3 separate regions of the Homo sapiens genome follow, and all the other regions are linked to region 3. The links are contacts of gene promoters, found by promoter capture Hi-C in blood cells and fetal thymus (Javierre and others, 2016). All regions are on one chromosome and are shown on one strand. Each heading gives the region's core, a stretch centred on a gene start or on the middle of the fragment in contact. The rest is flanking DNA. Distances are from core to core; before and after follow the strand shown.

Region 1 (3,309 bases), core at 286-2,785, 370 kb before region 3:
CACCCTGCACCATGGCTCTCTACTCTCCAACCACTCACAACACTTGCCATTCTCCAAACCCGTCCACAACTTCCCACTCCCCTCAATGCCCGATTCTATATTTCTGTCTGATCAGATATTTCTACCTGAACCATTCCTCAGTGTTCATGCAAACATTCTGGCTGCTACCTCCACAGCCAGAAGTAATTTTTCCTCCTCTGTGCTTCCAAATAACATGCTGCTTGTCATTCTCTGAAAGCTCTAGTCACATCCTGTCTCATGCTATGGTTATCTTAGATATCTTTCATCTCCTTCCAAACTATAAGCTTCTCATGGGCAGAAGTCCTATCTTAAATCTGTATAATTTTTTCAGTTCACAAAGTACTTTCATGTGTAATATCTTCTTTAACTCTTAAAACAACCTTTAAAAGTAGGTATTTTAATATGATGATTTTGTTACCTTTAAAAAATAGCAAATGCTTCTTGTAAAAAATAGACAAATAAGAGGAAAAATGTTAAGTTAGTAGCAATCCTACAATACAAATATAAGCTACAGTTAATATTTGGAGTAAAATGCTTCTTTTTTAAAAGCAGTATCATATTTTCATACTGTTCACTAAATAGCCTTTTGTATTTAACAACATATCATAAACACCTTTTCATGTAGGAGGAAAATATATTATAATTTTAATGATTATGGCATTCCATTTATGGGTATACTATAATTACTCAGACAAATTCTTCACATTTGTTGTTTAGATTATTTCCAGTTTTTGCTATTATAAACACATAATGACTATTCTTGCAGTGGACTCTTGCTCCAGACTTGATCATTTTCTTAGGATAAGTTTCTGGATGTGGAATTGCCAAGTCCAAAGGTGTGTTCGTCTTAAGGAATTTTTACAAATTACTTGCAGGAAGGTCATACCCATTTACATCCTATCAGCAGCGTATGAGAGATGCCTTTCCCTTGCCAGGTAGTTGCTCTTATTTTGTAGATGTGGAAAATGAGGCTTAGGAAAGTCAAGCACAGGGCTTGCCTAAGAAAACAGCCAGCAAGTGGCGTGTCTTCTGACTCCAGACATTTTGTTCTCCCAAGCTCTCTGCTTCTCTTTGCCCTTCTATTTCTTACCAATCCAAAGAGAGTGCCTGCAGTAGTAAGTGCTAAATTAATGTTGCACTCCCGGAAGGAGAGGCAGAGGCGGCTGTGCCCTGAGTGGTGGGGTGGGCCAATCCTGGGAGCTTTGCTAACATCAGCCTTTTCCGGGTGTCTGAGGCTGACTTGGTAAATGACAGATCTGTTCTTTGGTAGCTTTTTACTACTCCTTCCTGCCCTGTACCTGGGAAGGTACAAATTGCTTCAATTTAGTCCCCATATATTAAGAATCTACCTTGTGCTGGGGCCTGGGCATCAAAGACACAACACACATACTATCTGTCTCTGTCTCTGTCTCTCTTTCTCTCTCACTCACTCTCTCTCTCTCTCTCACTCACTCTCTCTCTTTCTCTCTCTCTCCCCCGCTCTCTCCCTGTCTTCTAGGTGTTTACAGTCTAGTGGGCAAAATAGAAGGTAAAGAAATAATTGCCACCTACAATGTGTGTGTGATGCTGCTTCTGACTGTCAGCCTCCAGATCCCACAATGGCCAGAGCAGGGCTCAGGGCCAGGGTCAGGGCTGGGGAGGGGAGGAAGCCCTGCCTGCCTGGTGTGGCCTCCAGCCTCTGTCTCTTTCATTGTGTCCCTCCTGGTGCTGGGGTTCCAGGGCTCCCTTCGACATCCTGCCATAGCCATGTGTTCCTTGTCTTTCTGCTCTAGCTGAGCCTCTGCTGCCCCCACCCCAAGACGACACAGAGGAGCTACAACTCAGAGAGGAATCACTCCAATATTAGGGAAAGAAGCTGACCCTGTTCTCCACTCAGGGAATAAAACACACATTTGAGAGAGGAAGGACGATCAGAGGTGACACCAGCATGCCCTCACACAGGGCACCGCTTCAGGGCTACAATACACTTGGAATTCTCCTTCCCAGAACTGACAACTGCCGAGTTCCATTTGTTTCCCAACAGCCTACAGAAAGCTACAAGGCATAAATACAGTCTGTAATCTCCTTCCTGTCACTGCCAGCAATTCCACCAAGCACAAGGGGGACCACTCACATGACAGAGAGCCAGGACTGCAGGGAGGAGGAGACCCCTGATGGCCGCGGCCATCCTCCCAGTCTCCAACCCTCCTCTTGCCCTCCACACTCAAGCTGTGTGCCCCTTTCTAGATTGCAGGCAGAGGGACCCAACAATCTCCTTTTTGTCACCATGCAGAGCTCTTCCTCTCTGAAAGCTAATAAGCAGCACAGCAGGCAGGGCCAAGCCACAGATGCAGACAGAAAGTCAGAGAGAAATGGAAGGATGGGAAGACACGGGGCTGTGTGACCCAATGACCCGGATGGTTCAGGGAACAAGAAAGGAAGCAAGAGCTTCACACTGAAGATAAAGTTCCTCTGTCCTCACGACCTCCCCACCTCCAGCACTGTAGCTCCCACAGGCCTCTCTCTGCCTATCCAAGTTCATTCTACTGGACCCGTCTATGGACATGGGCTGGCTTCCCCACAGATCACCTTTGCCTGTTTTGCCAACTTGTGCTTAGGCTTTTTGCAGATGAGTTGGATAAGTGAAGACCGAGCCTCTGGAATCTGTGGCCAGAGACCCAAACTAAAGACTTGTCCCCTGTCCACTCTGGGAAGGTTACCCCCACTCTGGTATCTATCTCAGGAGCATAAAACACCAAGCTTTTTTGTCCCAGTTGGCCCAAGAGCCTAAAAAAGCATCTGTTCTCACTCTGGAGCCCACCAAGGGCCTCTTCTTCCGTGAGTGCGGTGATGAAAGTGTGGTTTGCCTACACGGACACGCCAGCAGTCCCTAATAGCTGATGTTTGTGAATCCTCAGGCTTCACCTCCCTGCTGGCGGGGGTGAGCTATGGAGGTGTGGCAGCCAGGACCAGCTTCATCACACATTTGCTCTGTGATGTTGGATGAAGCATGCCACCGGTTTAAATTCTGTTTCCTCCTCATCATTATTGGTTTTCACCATTGCCATCTATAAACAAGGGGCTGGACCTGACAGTGTGACATTCTCTGATCTCATTCCCTGATGATGCTTGATCGGCTGTTAAATTCAACTGTCATCCCAGGGAAAGGCTCAAGTTTCACCAAGGCAATGAGGCTGATCTCAAAGACACCAGATGCCAATCCTCTAGAAAGAGAGGGGCTCTTTGGAAGCTAAAATAATTCATCGACTTGTTTATGGTGTTTCTCCTCTGCTCAAAAGTCTACAATGG
Region 2 (3,627 bases), core at 196-2,695, 420 kb before region 3:
ATGAGCTAGCCGATGGTGACAAAGCCAGTTCTCACCAAGTCTATTTCTAGAGCATGATTCTATTTCCCACTGCCCAACACAGGGCCATGGCTGCATTTGCACCTCTGGCTATAGGGCTGTCAGGATCATGCCGGGAACTTCCGTGACCTTTAGGATAGTCTCAAGGGAGTGATCTGAACACTGCCTACTGTCCTGCTCTGTTCCTCCCCACACAACTGTGGATTCTGCCATCCAGTCTGCATGAGACAGAAACAAGTGCATTATAAACAGGGCTCACATTGCTTTTATTGAACTAGAGCTGGACTTGAGCATGAGCTCTCTGGTGGTCCCATGTGGGTAGAAGTTCTGAGCTTGTGATGTGTGGGAGATGAGACTGACAGAATGAACTAGACACATGGTGTGGAAAGTGCAAGATTCTCAGAGCTAAGAAACTAAAGAGGAGGCAGAAGAATGGTTTGAAGCAGGGTTTCTGGAGCTGCGAGGAAGGAGATCATTCGCTGATAGACCAGGAAAGGCTTGAAAGCCACTTGGAAAAGATGGAGAAGTTTGGAGTGAAGATGGGGCTCTGCTGAAGCAGATGGAAAGAGACAGACTGCCTTGGCATTTAGGTGGAAAATCATCACTGAAGACACTTATAAAACACCTATCCACACCAGGTGCTGTTCCAAGAGTTCATTGATTAAGAGAGAACATTTCAAATTTAGAACCCAGGAGTGGACCAGATAGGACAGTGAGGACCAAGAATGTAGGATTGCAGCTAAAAGTATCAGTAACACCATTCTAAAGAACTGGCCTGTAAGATGGGCTTACGCATGTAAATCTAGAGACTGTGCGCCTGGAACCTGGCTCCCTAGGTGGGGTTTGGGCTTTGAGGCAGCGAGAGCCTCACGTCTTCCCTACTGCTCGGTGCCCTCAGGTGGGCGGTTTGGGATGGGCCATGGTATGAGTATTTACATCACGGGGATCAGCAAATGCTACGAATCGGAGCTGCTCCCCTTCCCCGCCTCGAGAGACGTTTGCCGGCACATCAACCTAGAACTATGGTATATTTATGGGGTGCTCCCTAACCATTTAATGAAGCCGTCCAACAAGCTTTGATGCAGTAGCTACTTCGTCTAAGCTGCTGACTCTAAGGTATCATGTAAGGTGCTGGGGATAAAGCAATGAGCAAGACAGACGCAGACCCTGTCCTCTGGAGTTAACAGTATAGCAGGGGAAACAGAAATAAGGTTGACACAAATGCTAACACAGTTAATTCAATTGTGAGTAATGCCACAAAGGAGACAGGCAGAGTCCGGAAGCCACCTCACCCTCTATCCCTGACCTGCAGCTCCACTCTCTGGGTTCTTAATGGAAAGGCAAAGCACCACTGCCCTCACTGTCTTCTCACTGCTCATGCCTCCAGCCCAGCTTTTCCTTATCAGTAATGGGCAACAACTTTAGCACCTCCGCGTCCCTGGTTCTCGGAGAGAATCTTTCAGCCTTAGGGAAGTGAGCCAACACCTTAGCAGAGCAGTCTTCGCAAAGCCAACCTCCTCCCCCACCCGCACCTGGCCAGGCCTAGCTCCTGCCCCTCTTCCGCTCCTCAGGACACCATGGTTTCCATGGGAACCCACTCACTTCAAAGGGGAACGAAGGAGACTGGAGGGGAGGAGGGGGAGGGAAAGCTGGATTAACCTCACCCTCTTGGCCCTGCCTCTGCGCCGCTGGCAACCTAATCCCCTGATTTAGGCAGCCCCTAACATCGGACTCCTCACCAGCATGGGCGGGTGGGGCTTGTGGTTCAAGCTAAGCTTGAACTTCTTTGGGAGAAAACCCCAGGGTTGAGGTGGGGGCTGGGGGAGGAGAGAACTGAGCTGGGTCCAAACCTGTGGTCCCTCACTCCACCGGCCTCCCCTCTTTGGACCCCCTCTCAGTGCTGCTCCTGGGCCACAAACACAATTACCCGCGATGTGCATCCAATCATGGGATCTGCTCGGATTAGACTGCAATCATTAATCTGAGCCGGAGCCCCTGGTTGCTTTGCTGATTAGTCCAGATGACGCTCTGGTATGATCCAATTAAAGACAGACGCTGCCCTCCGTCCCCCACCCCACAGTTTCCACATCAGAAGGGAACCAGTACATTTCATTAACACATCCTCATACACAAATAAAACCTCCCGGGCACTGGCAGGCTCCCTCCCCTTTGTCACACTGCCCCTCTGCCACCGAGCAGTGTCCTAGGCAGGGAGGGGCCACACCCACCCTTCCTTCATCTGTGGTTCTAGCAGGGGCCATGATGGGGGCTCCCAAAAGCCAGTGTGGGGCACTCATCTGAATGGAAAGGGTCTGGTTACACTTATTGACATAAAATGCCGACTCCCTGATGTGCTTTGGAGCAGCCAGGCTGCCCCAGGCAGGCAAATCTAATTAAAATTACCCGACCCTACAGGAGGCTGAGCTCCCTCCCTGGTCATCCCGGGGCAATGGCTGCAGAGAGGGCGGCTGGTACTAATGGGTGAGATGTGGTTGTAGGAGACAACCCTGGGGCTGCCGGGCCAGGAGGCAGCAGCAGGACTAGAGAGATGGGAAGCCAGCATGGTGCTGCTGTCAGCTCGGTGTCCTGAGGTGCTGGGGCAGCCGCGTTTGCCTGGGATTCCCTCTTCCAGGTCAGACAGCTGCAGACATACTTTGGGCAAACACCAAGGGTTGCGGGTGGTTAGCCCGGTGGGAGAAGATAAAGCCCAGGAGGGAAGGGGAGTAGGAAGAAGTGTTAATTGCAGAAAGGTCTAGGCCATTCTTCAAGTGACATCCATGTGGTGGCTCCCATGGGGGCAGTGACCCACCTCTCCTGCAGGTTGGCCTGGGTAGGGTACGAGCCTGGGATTGTGAGAAGGGCTTTGGAACCCATGGTTCCCATTGGTGGGACAGAGTAAACCCTCTGTTTGGTGCTGGACGCAGGGCCAGGTGCCTCCACGGGCCGTCTCATTGATTCTTATCAAGTCTGCTGCTTAGGTTCCATCGGGACATGAAAGCTCAGAGAGGCTAGGACACAGTGGAGGTGGGACTCAAACCTAGGTTTCCAAAAACTATTCGTTACACCACTCATCTGGAGGGCTTTCTAGACCATGATCTATGCTCACTACAGGCCCCTGACCCAGGGGTCTGAGCAGCTGCGAGGTGAGTCTTCAGTATGCATAGGAATCCCCTGGGATCTTGTGAAAATGCAGATTGAGTCCTTAGGCCTGAGTGAGCCTTAAGAGCCTGCATTTCTAATCTGCTCCCAGGTGATACGATGCTGCCAGTCCACAGGCCATACTTTGAGTAGCAATGCTCCAAATAGAGTATGACAAGCATATGTCATCAGGCTGTCGGGCAGTTTTCAGAGGCCACGCTACTCCCTTCCCTCCTTATGCTCCCCACAAAAGCACAAGCCCACTGCACCTTGCCCAGGTTAATTACAGGTGTCTGTGCAGTCTCATCTCCCCATTCCCAGCTTCTCTGGCCACTGGCTGGTCCTGGAAGGTCCTCTCCTACCCCATTTCTCCACCTAGTGGGGTCTGTTACTCAACCTTTAGGACCAAACTCAAATATTGCCTCCTCTGTGAAGCCTTCCCTGTTGCTCTGACCACGTAGCTCTGGTTTC
Region 3 (3,447 bases), core at 140-2,639:
AGATAAAAGTGGGAATGTGATGATAAATGACATTTGTTCTCTACGCTCAAGGAGCTCACACTGCATCAGGAAAAGATATATAAACAATCTACTATAACACAATGTGGTAAGTGCCAAGTTAAATTTGAACAAATAGCTAAGGGGCACAGTTTGGTGAAAGACTATCAGAAACCATGGAATTTCTAGTTAGACTTTCTCAGATTATCAGAGTTCATCTCTTTCTCCTTTATTCTATTACTCCATTTTGCCTGAATCCTCATTACAAAATTTATCATAAACCTTAAGCAACCAATTAATGTTACTTGAAGTATGCCAACTATCATCCATACTAAGTTGCAGTGTCTGGAAGATGTAGATAGTGCTTATGTCTTGGGCATAACAAGCAATCAAGAGTCTGAAGTAAACTGATATACAGATATATATCTATATAACCTGTTCCATGTAGATTATGCTCTATATATTATAGTAGGTGAGTAATAAATATTTGATTATGCCAACTAAAGCTGCAGTCAAGTTTTGGCAAATACTTGTTCTATAATCCTAATGCAAGAGCATAAACTATTTATGGCAGAATAGAAACAGCATCCTCGGACTGTTCATCTTTAAGCACCCAGGATTAGAGAAGGCTAATAAAAAGGGTGGTGGGGAACCCCACCATATTTGGATCAAACTGACACTCACATATGCTGGGATTTCCGAACTACCTGGTGAGGCAGGTTCCACCCATGCCCCAACTGGTACTATAGCCTCGTTCCTCTCAGCCAGCACTGCCAACACGTCCTTGCTCTTCAGGGGGTTTAAAGCCAGGGGCAACCTTGAGGTATTTCGAGGTTTCTTTCGGGCCATACTTCCCAGCATCTGTGACTCCTGATTAGGAGAAAGAAAAAGCTTAAAATCTTCAAATGACTGCATTAAAAGTTCAACCTCCTAACACATGAGCCACAGGCCCGTGAAAAGGAGAGAAGCCCTGGAGGCAGAAGCCTGGCATGAAGTGGAAACACACGGATTCTAGAGAAAAAGGAAGAAAAGAAGGGAAGAGAAATGGGAAGAAATAAAGAGGCAAAGAAAGGTTTTTAAGTTGCCTTCTAGAAGAAATGGCGATGAGAGGGAAGAGAAAGGATGGGAATGAGAGAACGAAGACTGTCCTCAGCTGTGGGCGCAGCGAGGCGGGAAGGGAGGAATGACAGCTGCAACCCGGAGAAAGAGGGAGGGGCGGGGACCTGTGTCTGCAGCCGAGAGTCCCAATAATCGGTATAGGTTATGGGAAGACGCGCTGAACGGCTGGGAGCCTCGGGCCAGATAAAAGCCTGCTTCTGAGGCCCCGAGGCCTGCTCCGGCTGAGATGGCACTGGCCAGGAATCGGCCCGCAGCTCGCCACAGACTCAGTCTACTCGGAGTACTAAGGTAACCGCCTCAAGTAGACCGCCACTTTGCGGTGGGCTGCTCCGTCCCGCCCATCCGTAGCCTTATGCCCGCCCTTTCCGGAGCCCGCGTCCCCTCCCGGAGCTGGGAAGGCGTGAGAGGTGGAGTTTCGAGCGCCCGAGGTATCGTCATTTCCTCTTCCTGTCCGGCTGAGGGGGCGGGGACGTGTGGGTAAGCGGAGTCGCTGGGTAATGCGCCATGTGAGGCGCGGTGGGACTGTCGTTCCTGGACCAACGCCGAGACTTCCTAAATCCCTCCGGAAAGGGATGCGTTGGGCCTGTGATCTGGCGACTAGGAGGGTCAGGAGTCCCAGTAGAGGGAATCACGGGAAAAGAATGAAAGAGGGAGGCGAGCCTGGCACGGCTTCCTGGAGAAACAAACTAAGCTAACAAATTTTTCGGATCCTTTGTGCAGCTAATTTTACAGTACTGTTTCATACATCTTATTATATTTGGACATCACGGCCTGTTGAGTGGTCTCCCTCTCTGCTGCAAGCTCTGCTGTAATCCAGAGACACTCAATTATCTCTGTAGGATAATTTATTCATTCGATTAACATACATTACTACTAACTTTTTATAAACCAGTACTGTTCCAAGCACCGGAGATACATAGCTATGAACGAAACAAATATCCCTGCTCAGGGAATTCACAATAGAGTGAGGGGAAATAAGCGAATAAACAATGAGTAAGTAAATGTGTGTGATGTGGAGTAAAAGCAAAGAAAGCGGATAGGGAGTGTGGTGGGCAGGGTGGGGATTGGAGGGATGAAATATTAGAACGTCCAGAGAAGCTGCACTGAGATACTTTTCAGCAAAGACTTAAATGAGTTAATGGAAGAAGCCACTGTGCTCTTCAACGGAGGCTTTATAAACATGTTCCAGATATAACAGCAAGTATAAACGCCCCAAGGTGGAAGCATTGCCTGGTTGAGAAAAAGTCAGGAGGATAGTGTGACTGGAGCAGAGGGAGAGTGGAAGAATGCTGAGACAGTAGGTCAAGCAGGCAATCCGATCAAACATCGTAAGCCACCATAGGTGTTGAGATGGGGAGCCACTGGAGCAAGGTTTGGAGCAAAGGAACACCATAATGTGACAAAATTAAAAAAATAATAATTCCGAATGCTGTAGTGAGAATAGACTGTAAAGAAGACCAATTAGGTGGCTATTGCAATAATTCAGTTAAGGGATTGTGATGTCTTGGATCAAGGAGGTAGTGGTGGAGATGATGATAAGTGGTTGGATTCTGTATCTATTTGGGAGGCAAAACTTTCAGGATCTGTTGAAGGTTTGGATATGGATTGTGTGAGGGAGAGATGTCAAGGAAAACTAGGGGTTTCATCCTGAGCAGCTGTCAGGATGAAATTACTATTTACTGAGATAGTGAAGATGGTGGAAGGAGTAGATTTGGAAAGGGGAAGATCAGGAGTTCAGTTTGGGGCAGATAAAGTTTTATCTAATCAACATCCGAGAAGATAGTATGAGAAAAAGTGTCTGGAGCTCAGAGAAGGGTTCTGGGCTACAAATATAAATCTAAGAGTCGTTAGCCTGTAGATTTAAAGCCATGAGACTGGATGGAGTCATCAAGGGGTTGAATATAGACAGATAAAAGAATAAATCCTAAAACAGCCCCAGGGTATGTCAGTATTACAGAGGCTGAGAAAAAGAGGAGGAGAATGCTAAGAGATTGAGAAGGATTAATCAGTAAACCAAGGAAGAAAACTATGAGGGTGTGATACCTTGAAAGCCAGGTGAAAAAGAAATGTTCCATTGAGGGCAGACAATCTGTGTTAAATCCTACTGACAGATCAAATAAGGTAAGGACTGAAAATTGACTATTGGATTTGACCATGTGGAAGTGATTGATAACTTTTAAAAGAGCAGTGTCTTTAGAGTAGTTGGAGAGCAAAAGCCTGATGGGCTAGGCAAGAAAGAGTAGGAGAAGGAATTGGAGACAGCAATTTTAGACAATTCTTTCCATGAATTTTGTTGTGAAGGGACACAGCGAAAGAGGTGGCTGAACGTAG

The links. The method cuts DNA at HindIII sites, captures the fragments that hold promoters and counts their contacts. A CHiCAGO score of 5 or more calls a contact.
Region 1: a contact is called between a fragment that was not itself captured here and the fragment with the promoter of CCDC15 in region 3, in 1 of 17 cell types (M0 macrophages). The highest score is 5.1, in M0 macrophages.
Region 2: a contact is called between a fragment that was not itself captured here and the fragment with the promoter of CCDC15 in region 3, in 3 of 17 cell types (endothelial precursors, M2 macrophages and M0 macrophages). The highest score is 5.8, in endothelial precursors.

The regions. Positions count from the first base shown.
Region 1 is chr11:125,326,521-125,329,829 of GRCh38, reverse strand. All of the region lies in intron 2 of PKNOX2 (PBX/knotted 1 homeobox 2), which reads right to left. Among named protein-coding and RNA genes, the nearest start is that of PKNOX2-AS1, 61 kb to the right of the region's middle. The HindIII fragment of the contact is 2,455 bases long and covers 308-2,762 here.
Region 2 is chr11:125,369,566-125,373,192 of GRCh38, reverse strand. The region is part of intron 5 of PKNOX2 (PBX/knotted 1 homeobox 2); the gene reads right to left. Among named protein-coding and RNA genes, the nearest start is that of PKNOX2-AS1, 100 kb to the right of the region's middle. RefSeq lists enhancers at 402-1,281, 3,044-3,627. The HindIII fragment of the contact is 701 bases long and covers 1,095-1,795 here.
Region 3 is chr11:124,952,144-124,955,590 of GRCh38, reverse strand. CCDC15 (coiled-coil domain containing 15) reads right to left here and starts at 1,389. Exons shown (of 16, transcript NM_025004.3): 1 at 1,221-1,389; 2 at 682-867. The coding sequence starts at 858. It overlaps CCDC15-DT (CCDC15 divergent transcript), which reads left to right and starts at 1,600. Exons shown (of 3, transcript XR_948134.3): 1 at 1,600-2,109. RefSeq lists an enhancer at 1,186-1,729. The HindIII fragment of the contact is 8,789 bases long and covers 891-3,447 here.